Regions from separate parts of the Homo sapiens genome. Here region 1 is linked to region 2. The links are contacts of gene promoters, found by promoter capture Hi-C in blood cells and fetal thymus (Javierre and others, 2016). All regions are on one chromosome and are shown on one strand. Each heading gives the region's core, a stretch centred on a gene start or on the middle of the fragment in contact. The rest is flanking DNA. Distances are from core to core; before and after follow the strand shown.

Region 1 (5,199 bases), core at 1,946-4,445, 670 kb before region 2:
CTTCTGCTCCACGTGAGTCACCTTGGGGAGCTGTGGGTGGGGCTGAAGTGCTGGTGGTCCCTGCTTCCATCAACTCACCTGGGCTGGGTCTTCCAGACCCACCCTGTCCTGTTCTGCCCAGCCTGTTGGTTCAAGGAAGAGAGATAGATACACCTTGAGGGCAGGGCAGTGCCTTGCTCTTGAGATGTCCCAGACAGCCCCGAGCACATAGTTGGGGCCCAGTTAAGTGTGTGTTTAATCATGGAGGAGCCTGAGCAATTCCTACAGTCTGAGTCAGGCTGACTCAGATGGGAGCCAAATTCCCATGAAAGATCCCTGAAAAGGCCCTTAATTCAGCTCTATGAGCCATTTTCAGAGCAGTTTTTCAATCCGTTCTATAATAATAATGATCATATATGACATATATATATATTTTGAGATGGAGTCTCACTCTGTTGCCCAGGCTGGAGTGCAGTGGCGCAATCTGGGCTCATTGCAACCTCCGCCTCCCAAGTTCAGGTGATTCTTCCGCCGCAGCCTCCCGAGTAGCTGAGTAGCTGGGACTGCAGGCATGCACCACCACGCCGGGATGGTTTTTGTTTTTGTTTGTTTGTTTGTTTTTTGTTTTGTTTTGTTTTTGAGATGGAGTCTCACTCTGTCGCCCAGGCTGGAGTGCGGTGGCGCAATATCGGCTCACTGCAACCTCCGCCTCCCGGGTTCAAGCAGTTCTCCTGCCTCAGCTTCCTGAGTAGCTGGGATTACAGGCGTACGCCACCACGCCCAGCTAATTTTTGTATTTTTAGTAGAGACAGGGTTTCACCATGTTGATCAGGCTGGTCTCAAACTCCTGACCTCGTGATCCACCCGCCTCAGCATCCCAAAGTGCCGAGATTACAGGCGTGAGCCACCGTGCCCAGCGTGTTTTTTGTTTTTTTCAGAGATGGGATTTCACCATGTTGATCAGGCTGGTCTCGAATTCCTGACCTTAGGTGATCCGCCTGTCTCAGCCTCCCAAAAGTGCTGGGATTACAGGCGTGAGCCACCGCGCCTGGCCCATATATGATATTTCATATAGGGAGAGTTTACAAAGCATGAGAAATACAGCCACAGTATGTTGTAAACTGTCATGAGTTACTAGTGTGTTTATTTAAGCCTCTAAACAGAAATACCCTGAGATAGGATAGCTGTTATCTCCATGTGGGGAAACTGTGGCTATCAGATAGGTTATAGAAATGGTCCAAGACCTCACTGGGCAGAATCTAGGTCTTCCTGCTGCTGTATCACACTATGCATTTCAATCAAAAATTTACTAAGCCTCAAGTGTTGTGCTGTGGTGAACAGGAGCTGGGGAAGGAATATTTAGAAATGGCATACCCAGGGCCGGGCGCGGTGGCTCACGCCTGTAATCCCAGCACTTTAGGAGGCTGAAGCGGGAGAATCACGAGGTCAGGAAATCGAGACCATCCTGGCTAACACGGTGAGACCTCGTCTCTACTAAAAATACAAAAAAATTAGCCGGGCGTGGTGGCGGGCGCCTGTAGTCCCAGCTACTGGGGAGGCTGAGGCAGGAGAATGGCGTGAACCCAGGAGGCAGAGCTTGCAGTGAGCCGAGATCGTGTCACTGCACTCCAGCCCGGGCGACAGAGCGTGACTCCGTCTCAAAAAAAAAAAAAAAAAAAAAAAAAAAAGAAAAGGCATACCCAGCGCTGTGAGATCCTGGGGGATCTGGCCTCAGCCTACCCTCCCTCCTTACTCTACCCACTTCTTGGCCAATCTCAGACTCTCCCTTAGCTTCAGCCACCACTCGGACCACAGATTAGCCAGCTTGTGACTCTCCAAGCTGTATCTCCAGCCCCGACAACTCCCTCGAACTCCAAAATTATAGACCCAAGTGCCTTCTGCACACTTTCCATCTGGGGGTCTCCCAGCATTGCCAGACTAGGTTCAAAGCTAGACCCCCTCCTCCCCAACACCTGCTCAGCATCCTGCATCCCTGTCTCAGGTGGTGGTTCCCACCTAATCACCTAGGTGTCATCCTTAGTGTCTCTCTCCTCCACCCAAACAGCCAATCAATTGCCAAGTCCTATACATTTTCCTCCTAAATATTCCTCAGATCCAGCCCTTCCCCTTCCTCCTCATATCTTGTGTCCCAGCTCAGGCTATAATCCCTCGATAACAACCTCCTTCCAGCCTCCTTGTCCCCAGTCTTATCTCCCATGCATCCATCATCCCAGCAGCCTATCTGTACAGGTTCCTCCCTGCCTCAAACCCCTTCTGTGATTCCTCTGTCTGAAGGGATGAAGTCCAAGTTCCTTAATAAGTCTCCCTTTGATATGGCCTTTCCACCCTTACAGCCTCTCCTCTAGCCACTCGCTGCCTCAAACCATCTACGGTATAGAGGTTGGCCTGCCCGCGGAGCCGACTTCATCTTGAAATTCTTCATCATTTTGTAACAAGCAGCTGTGCATTTCCATTTTGCACTGGACCTCACAAATTACGTTGCCCGTCCTGCCTGCCTGTTGTTGCTTGCACCCCTCTTGCAGTTTGTGGCCACCTAAGCTTTGTCTGTGTAGTCTCCTCCACCTAAAACTCCTCTTCCCACATCACCCAGCTATCTTCAGCTCTTCGTTTAGACTCAATGTAGGTGTTCTCTTTGGGACGTCTCACCGACTCTCTTCCTTCCCCTTCCCTGCCCTAATCGCCCAACACGTTGCAGGTGCTCAACCATGTCTATTAGAGAAACTGAATGAGGAGGCAAAGCATGACAAGTGCCACAAGAGACCTGCACACTGCTCTGGATGGTAAAGCGACGCAAGGAGGGAAGAAGGTATTTGCAACGGCCTCCCAGATCGGCGCTAGGACCCCGCCAGCAGACGTCTCAATCTGCGTGGAGAAGACCCAGTGCCCGCCAGGGGAAGCGGCTGCCAGGCTGGGCTCTCGAGCGCCGCCTGTCGCAATCCCACGGCCGCTGCAGCGCACCCCCTCCCGTCCCCTGCCCTGAGCCCGCCTCGCGTCTCCAATTGGCTGTCTCCATTCTCCCGCCCCTCCCGAGCTCAGCCATTCGGAGCCTGGGGTGGGCGGGGCTTGAGGCCTGAGTGGAGCGTAAACCCTGATTGGCTGTACGGAAGGCGGCGACGTGGCCGAAGGATGCCCGTTTGTGTCTAAACGGAGGCTCGGCCACAACGCCACTGGATTGGTGGTAGGGCGGGGCGGGCCACAGTCTCCAGCCTGAAGCGGAAGTGGAGGAAAGATGGAGGTGTGGGGACAGGAGCTGGGTGTGCTGGGGACTGGCCGCGGACCCCTAACCTGTGTCTCCGGTCTCCCTCCGGAAGCGGCTCAACCCAGCCCATCGCTCTGGCCCCGTTCTGGCCCTGCAGGGTGGTGGTTGGGACGTTGAAATGAGCGCGCGAGTGGTACGTCCTCTCTCCGCGCTCACGCCCCCCTCCTCACCGTGTTTCCCGCCAGGACCATCAGCACGTGCCCATCGACATCCAGACCAGCAAGCTGCTCGGTAGGAGGGGGCGCCACCGCGCAGCTGGCTGTCGGGGGGAGGCCTGTGCGTTGCCCCCTGTGTCCAATAGCCGGGAGCTCTGACCCCTGAAAGCCTGAGTCGAGATGCTGACCACTGGCCTCGTTCTATGCCCCATCTGTGGCCAGACCTGCTTCCCTGATAGCAGCGGGAACGAACCATATGTACAGTCTGTTTGACCTGCGTTTTCTCCTTTAATAACATATGTTATCGTATCATTCAGGGACAGGATAAATGACTCGCTTTAAAAACAGTCAACCACTGCCGGGCGCGGTGGCTCATGCCTGTAATCCCAGCACTTTGGGAGGCCGAGGTGGGCGAATCACCTGAGGTCAGGAGTTCGAGACCAGCCTGACCAACATGGAGAAACCTTGTCTCCATGTCTCCATGACTAAAAATACAAAAAAATAAAAATAAAAAGTAGCCGGGCATGGGAGCACATGCCTGTAATCCCAGCTACTCGGGAGGCTGAGGTGGGAGAATTGCTTGAACCCCGGAGGCAGAGGTTGCGGTGAGCAGAGATCTCACTATTGCACTCCAGCCTGGGCAACGAGAGCGAAACTCCATCTCAAAAAGAAGACAAAAAACAGTCAACCACTAAGTGGCACATCTGAATTGGAACTTAAGTCTGTCTGACCCACTGTCCATGCCTTTTGCATTATGCCAGGAAAAAAAAAAAAAACCTCATTTAAAAAGCTTCCACCTCCCCCTTGATTTTAGGAGGAAGAGGGACCTAAGACCCAGTTGCAAATGAAAACCTTTTAGTGTCCAGGCCATCTCCAGGTTGTCTGTATGGGGCTTACATACTTCCTCCCCAGTTCATAGTCAGGGAAGGCCTCTTCATCTGATCACACAGCTCCTGGCATTTTAAAATGCTTATTGGATTCATGGATTTGATGCCAATCTTGTCCTTAAGATGGTGTCTGTTTGACTACCCCAGTCCGTTGCTTCTAGTTCTGTGACATCAACAGAATTTTTCTTTCTGAAAACTTTACAGGAATATAGCAGAGAGAGTATAACTGATACTAGTGTGGGACCCCAGCGTTTGACCGGTTGGCAGAGTTCAAGTTCTGAATTCACCACTCTGTAGTGCCATTTAGTCAGTCCTGCTTGGTGGTCACGGGGGAAGCTTCTTTAGCCTCCCTTCAGATTTGTACTGGCCCTTCAGCCCATGTGCAGTCTTGGTGTGTGAGCTTGTTCTTGGTCATGAAAAGGACCAATAAAATGACCACCATTCATTGAGGGTTTTTTTTTGTACCAGGTGCTGTTTTAGGCACTTGACATGATAAAAATGATCACTGTCATTTTTTGAGTCCTTGCCGTGTCTCAGGCACACTGTTCAGTGTTTTACCTGCATTCCCTTTTCTAGTCAGTGTCTTATTATTCCCCATTTTACATGTGGGAAAACTGAGGCACAGAATAGTAGACTTGCTCAAGAAACTTGATAACGAGAACCCAGGACCATCTGACCACAAAGCTCAGCTCTTAGCTCTCACTGAGGAAATATGCATGGCTCTGAAGCCACAAATCTGGGCCCAGACTTTGAGAGGTCAGTCCCATTGGTATTCACATGTACAGGGTGGTACTTCACTGTTCACAACAGAGTCATGTTATCTAGTCCTTAGGGCGCTGTAGGTATTAGGGGCTTTGCAGCTGTTCATTCATCCAGTACTTGGCATAACCATCTTGTA
Region 2 (5,354 bases), core at 318-2,817:
GACAAATTAAAAGGACAAACAATTTATTGTTCCACAAGGTTGAACAGATACTGTCACCTGGACTTCTTGGAACACCAGGAACCAGGTCACAGGTGCTGGGGACTCTTAGACTGAGACCAGTCAGGCCACAACACCCAATCACTACCTCCTCCATATTTGCCTGTGCAGACAAGGAGTATGCAAGGTCTCTGTGTCTCTAATTAAATTAATATGGAGCTTTTATCCACTGGGGCCTGGACCTTCCGCCATTTGTCACCTTGTCCAAAGCTATCTCATACCGAAAGAGAATTGAACGTTTCAGGAAACACTTCCCCTTTGCAAATGCCCTTCTCTTGGGGAATGGGTATAGTGTCCAAATCTCCAGCTCCCACCATTTCTAGCCAGCCCTGAGGAATTGTCTGAGACCCGGGAGCCCAGAGATCATCAGCGGGGGCCAACAGCCATGACCTTTGAGTTTTCTTGGCCGCTGGGCCACAGAAAGGGTGCAAGAGGCAGCTGGACAGGTAGACAGAAGTAGGCACAAAGAAAGGGGCCCTGGACGGTTGCCAGAGAAAAGACGGAGAATGACAAAGAGAGAAGTGAAATAGCTGGACTGGAGGCGGGAACTGGAGCGCAGCAGGCAGGTGGAGTGGCCAAAACCCGCGTGCTAAGAAGAGCCCACAGGGGCGGCAGGGGCGGCAGGGGCGGCAGAGGCGGCCAGGCGCGTCTCCGTTCCCCATCTTTACGGGGAGGTTAATGACCTCCTCAGCGCCCCCTCGTCCCAAACCACCCAATTACAACTCCTCAGGCTCCTTAATGATCTGATTAATTGGTTGGTTAGGGCGGATGGAGGTGCTTCTCTGCCGGGGACCTGGCGGGGTTTCGCTAGATCATTTGTTAATTGTGGGAAGGAAGGACGCATCCGGGGAGAGGAGATCCAGGGCTGGAAAAGTGGGTGAGCGGCGCTGGCGCAGGCGGCCAGGAGAGAGCAGATGAACCGTTCGTTAGGAGCAGCGAGGTAGTCGTGAGCGCTGAGATCCAGAGACTAGGACCCACTCCCTCTCTGAGCAGCAAATTGGGAAGAAGATGCTCACTCGGTAAGGGCGAGGGAGCCCGGCATGGCGCCCCACCACGGGCTCGGTCTATCTGCGCGCCAAGATCCCGCTTGGGGCGAGGCGTTGGGTCAGCGTTTAGAGCCACTCCCTGCGCTGGTGGCTGGACATAGCCTCCCTATCCCACCTCATCTTCCCCCATCCCCGACAGAGGAGGTTGTGAATCTACAGGCCCTTGACGTTGAGGCGTCGGAGGGCGCACCTTTGTAATTGCGGCCTCCCTTCGCCCCTTAAGTGCCGCTTCTGGGCGCCTAGGCTGGATATGAAAGCCCCGTTCCTAATCCTCTGCTCTGGTCCCCTCCTCTGGACTGCTGGGACTCTAAGCTAGGCCCTCCCCAGGTTCCATCACTGCGGCGCCAACCCGCGGCTGGGCTGTCCGCAAGAGGGAGTTGAAGGCGCGCGGAATCCCGAGGTGCAGCTGACCCTCCTCTCAACGCCGACTCTGCCGCTCCCGCCCGGCCACCTCCCTGTCGGGCAGACTTCCTGTTCTCCTGCTCACAGCAGGGAGGCAGTCGCCGAGCCGGTCAGCAGCGTGCACGGAGATCTTCACTCTGCGCCCAGCCCCGGGACACAGGTGCAGATCTCCAGCGGAGCACTGCGGAGTGCGCGCCGTCGAGCACTAGGGAATCCTAGACGGAGGACTTGGTCCATTCCACGCAGTCCCAGGCAGGTCCGCAGCGGAGGGACGCAGCGGTCTCCAACTCCTGGTCACGACTTCGGCGACCCTCCACCCCCTGAGAGACCTGGTCCCACGGAGCTGTCCCCCCAGGAGCCGCAGCGGGAATAGCAAAGCAAAGGGGACCACTCAGCCCCCAGGAGGAGCCCTGAAGCAAAAAGGTTGCTGCGGGGAGCCACGTTCCCTCTGGTTCACCTCGAAGCCCAGGAGCTCCGGTCCCTGGACCAAGGAGTGAACAGACCTGAGGAAGAGGTAAGAGGAGGTTTAACGAGTAAAAATTTGGACTCTCTCCTCTTATACTGCTTTAAAGCATGAGGAATTTGGGCCCTGACTTCTCTCTCCTTGAAGAAGTTTCTCGCGTTCTGGCCAGTCCTTGCGTGTCTGCACCCAGGGCCGGCAACAATTTAAGGAGGAACTTTACTGGGTGGTCGAGGCTTGAGAGTTCATAGTTACCTTTTAAAAAAATCATTACTATTACTTAATATCTAGGTTATTTTGGACTGAGCCCCCATCTTCGCTCCAGCCCAAATTCGGCCTTTAACAGTACTAGGGAGTGCTTCAAAAGAGGAGGGTCGTGGAGGAAGCGACTCAGACGGCCCCAAGAGGAGAGATGGGAAGGAGTGAGGGCTTTGGCCTTAATGATCTCTGCAAGTTAAAGGCCATTATTCCTATAACTACAGCTGGGGAAAGGGCAGAGGAGGTAAGGACGGAAAGTGGGCTGAGGGTGGCCACTTTGGCATCTTCTTGAGAAAGGAGACATTTGAATTCCCGGCCCAACTAAAAGCCCTGAGATGCTTGCCCTTTGCTTTACAGACAGTGATGGCAAAGAAATACTGCCACCAGGGTGTTTTTAAAGGTGAAGGTTGACCTGATAAGCACTGAGATCAGACAAAGGAAAAAAAAAGTAAAGCATTTGGTCTTTCAGTTTTCTGGCTAAATCTGGCATCATTTTCCAGACACAAACTTCTCTGATTAATCCAAATAGCTCTCAACCTGAAGTTCAAGGAATTTGAAATCCTCTGAAATTGTGGGATTTCACAGTTCTAAAAGGAAGTCAGCTGTCACTTTCTGAGAAGCCCTGGGAGGGGAAGGAAGCAAGAGGAGGTATATGAGGAAAGGGGGTGAGAGGCCCCAGATCTAGCTCTCTAGACATTTAGTGCTGGACCCCCAAGCTCTGAAACTCAAGCTGACCCCATCTACACATTGCCAAACTGAGTAGAAAGTTGCAAGGCAGTCAAGGAGATAAATTTTATTTACTGCTTTAAGGATGAGTTTGGGTGTCTAAGCAGATTATAAATCTGGGTGTTTTCAGTATTTGTTTCTTTCTTTCAACTATTACTGATTTTTGGCCCAGAGTAGTTTCTGGGGCCCTTGGGGCAGTTAGGCAAGAGAGGGACTCAGACCTCCAGTCCCTTGATCTTGCCTTTACTTGGTGAAGAGCCCAAGATTCTCTACTGGCAGGCAAGGTCAGAACCAAGTTGGCCCTAGGCCTTGCCCCAACCCCCCAGCCCTCAGGACTCCTTTCTCTGAGACCAGGCCTCTGGCCAAACTGCAGACTCCCTCCACACCCGGTCACTGGAATAATGATGGCATTTTTGATTTCTCCCATTTTTGAAAACTATAGAAGCCCCAAGGAGGAAGGAGGTACCACTGGATCTTGGGGTGCTGGTGGGGGATTCTGGAATCAAATATCCTCTAAGCCTGTGAGGACAAGGTCTACTAGGATGACTTGGTGTCAATTACAGCTCTGAGTGCTGCCTGGATAGGTCAAATATTCCCTCCTTTCCCTCCTCATTCCTTCCGTTCAAGCCCAGAAAATTCACAGATTTTCTGTGTGGAGAGAGAGAAAAAAAATGGGCAAAACCTGGGAGTAAAAGGGAGATGAGGGAGAAGAAAATGAGGGAGAGAAACCAATAGACTAAAACAATGAAACTCTCTAACCCAACAGCACTTTAAGCTTGACTTTTAATCTGGCCAGAAAAAAAAAGAAGTTGGAGGCAGGGTGGGTGGGATGTGAAGTTCCCAGCCCAACAGATCCTCCTGTTGTCACGGGCTCTGTGCGTTCCCAGCTGGTGAGAACCCTGTCTGTCCTGGGGGTGGGAGGGATGTCCTGGGTCTTTCAAGTTGCAGTGTGGGGAGTGAGGCTCTTTCTAAGGGTCTCTGAGGTCTCCCACAACACCTTGCTTGGACTAGCAAAACCTTTCTTTGCATTTCCTCTGGGGCACTGTGTATGTGTATCCCTGTGTAGGGTGGTGTTCTAAACCACCGCAGAAGGTGAGCAATTCTCCTCCCAGCGAGCCAAAGGCTATATGTTTGGGGTGGAGGAGGCTTCATCCCTTCTGGACTGGAGAAATGGGGACTTGGAGCCAAGTGCGCCAGACTTTAGGGAAAGAGAGGAGCTCCAGCTCCAAAAGGGATTTGGAGGGAAGATCCTATCAGGAAAGGCCCCCCAGACTTGCTTCCTCAAAGGGTTAGGGAAGTGCACTGAGAAAAGAGAACTTTCACTTAACTCTTCTCCATTAGGCATCTTTGTGCTTCCATTTGTACTGGAAAGCACAGTCCTGGGCAGTCAGTTGCACATTCCGCCTCTGGTATGTGGACTATGTGAAATATACCATGCAATGTTCTACTTTGCGAGGGGGGAGGCATATAGATGAAAATATGAATTTCCCTTCTACTGCCTTTATTATTGAGCACAGTTGGGAGCACATAATTTCACATCTCTTTCGCATGTCTGTATAAATCCTCAATCTTTAAACGGTGCTTGACTACTCCGAGAGGCACAGTTGCTGTCATATAAGATTCCTAGCCGACTCCGGCGAGTTACTAATTCCTCTCAGACTCCACAATACCCACGATGCACGATGCACACCCCTTTATGCTTGCTTTTCTTTACATGCCTTTTCAAAGGCGAATAATTTTTGTATTGACCCATGAGTCAGTCCATACAGTTTGAAATCCTTTGGATGCCCTCTGCCCACTCCCATAAACAACAGGTCCCTCCACAAAAATGCACATGCCCCGTTTTTGTGAGTGTGGGTTTCAAATAAGATGGCGTCTCCTGGCATTCCTTAGATTCAGATACACGCTCTCTCAGGCAGGAGGCTGCTCACAGTCCAGAGGGGAAGAAAACCTATGAGGCCCCCAAAAGCCAAAGCAAGAGACTCCCCCAAGTATTCTGCCCCCTCCACGCCAGGAGGCAGCTAGAGAGACAGCGCGCGGGAGAGCTGATTCTGCACCTTGGGGAGCTGGGGGCTTCTGTCTAGACCAAGAGTTCCAGGCCAATTCCTAATTTCCGTTAGGAAAAGTGGCCCTTCTTCCATCCCAAGCGATTCCTCACCCCCAAGGCTGCTCAGGGCGTCTGGCCCTTGCCTCTCTCACGGCATCCGCCTGGAATCCGGGGTTGTGAGCAGGAGGCCCAGGACGCAGGGCCTCAGGCTGGGCGGGGCACTGAGCACTCGGCTCTGGGGAGCCAGGGTTTCCGGTAGAACGAGGGGAGGCGACCCCCTTTCCCCACACACACACCTGTTGGAGAGGTAGGGTCGGGTGCCAGCGGACAGGGAGGCCAAGGCGTTTTCGGGTGCGCC

The links. The method cuts DNA at HindIII sites, captures the fragments that hold promoters and counts their contacts. A CHiCAGO score of 5 or more calls a contact.
Region 1: a contact is called between the fragment with the promoter of CDK5RAP3 here and the fragment with the promoter of LINC02086 in region 2, in 4 of 17 cell types (non-activated CD4 T cells, naive CD8 T cells, neutrophils and 1 more). The highest score is 6.2, in non-activated CD4 T cells.

The regions. Positions count from the first base shown.
Region 1 is chr17:47,967,918-47,973,116 of GRCh38, forward strand. It overlaps CDK5RAP3 (CDK5 regulatory subunit associated protein 3), which reads left to right and starts at 3,196. Exons shown (of 14, transcript NM_176096.3): 1 at 3,196-3,235; 2 at 3,445-3,490. The coding sequence starts at 3,230. RefSeq lists a silencer at 2,847-3,136 and an enhancer at 3,558-4,185. The HindIII fragment of the contact is 1,666 bases long and covers 2,537-4,202 here.
Region 2 is chr17:48,641,060-48,646,413 of GRCh38, forward strand. LINC02086 (long intergenic non-protein coding RNA 2086) reads left to right here and starts at 1,568. Exons shown (of 8, transcript NR_189645.1): 1 at 1,568-5,303. The region is part of intron 1 of LINC03057 (long intergenic non-protein coding RNA 3057); the gene reads right to left. RefSeq lists enhancers at 167-1,165, 1,166-2,162, 5,330-5,354. The HindIII fragment of the contact is 12,737 bases long and covers 1-3,722 here.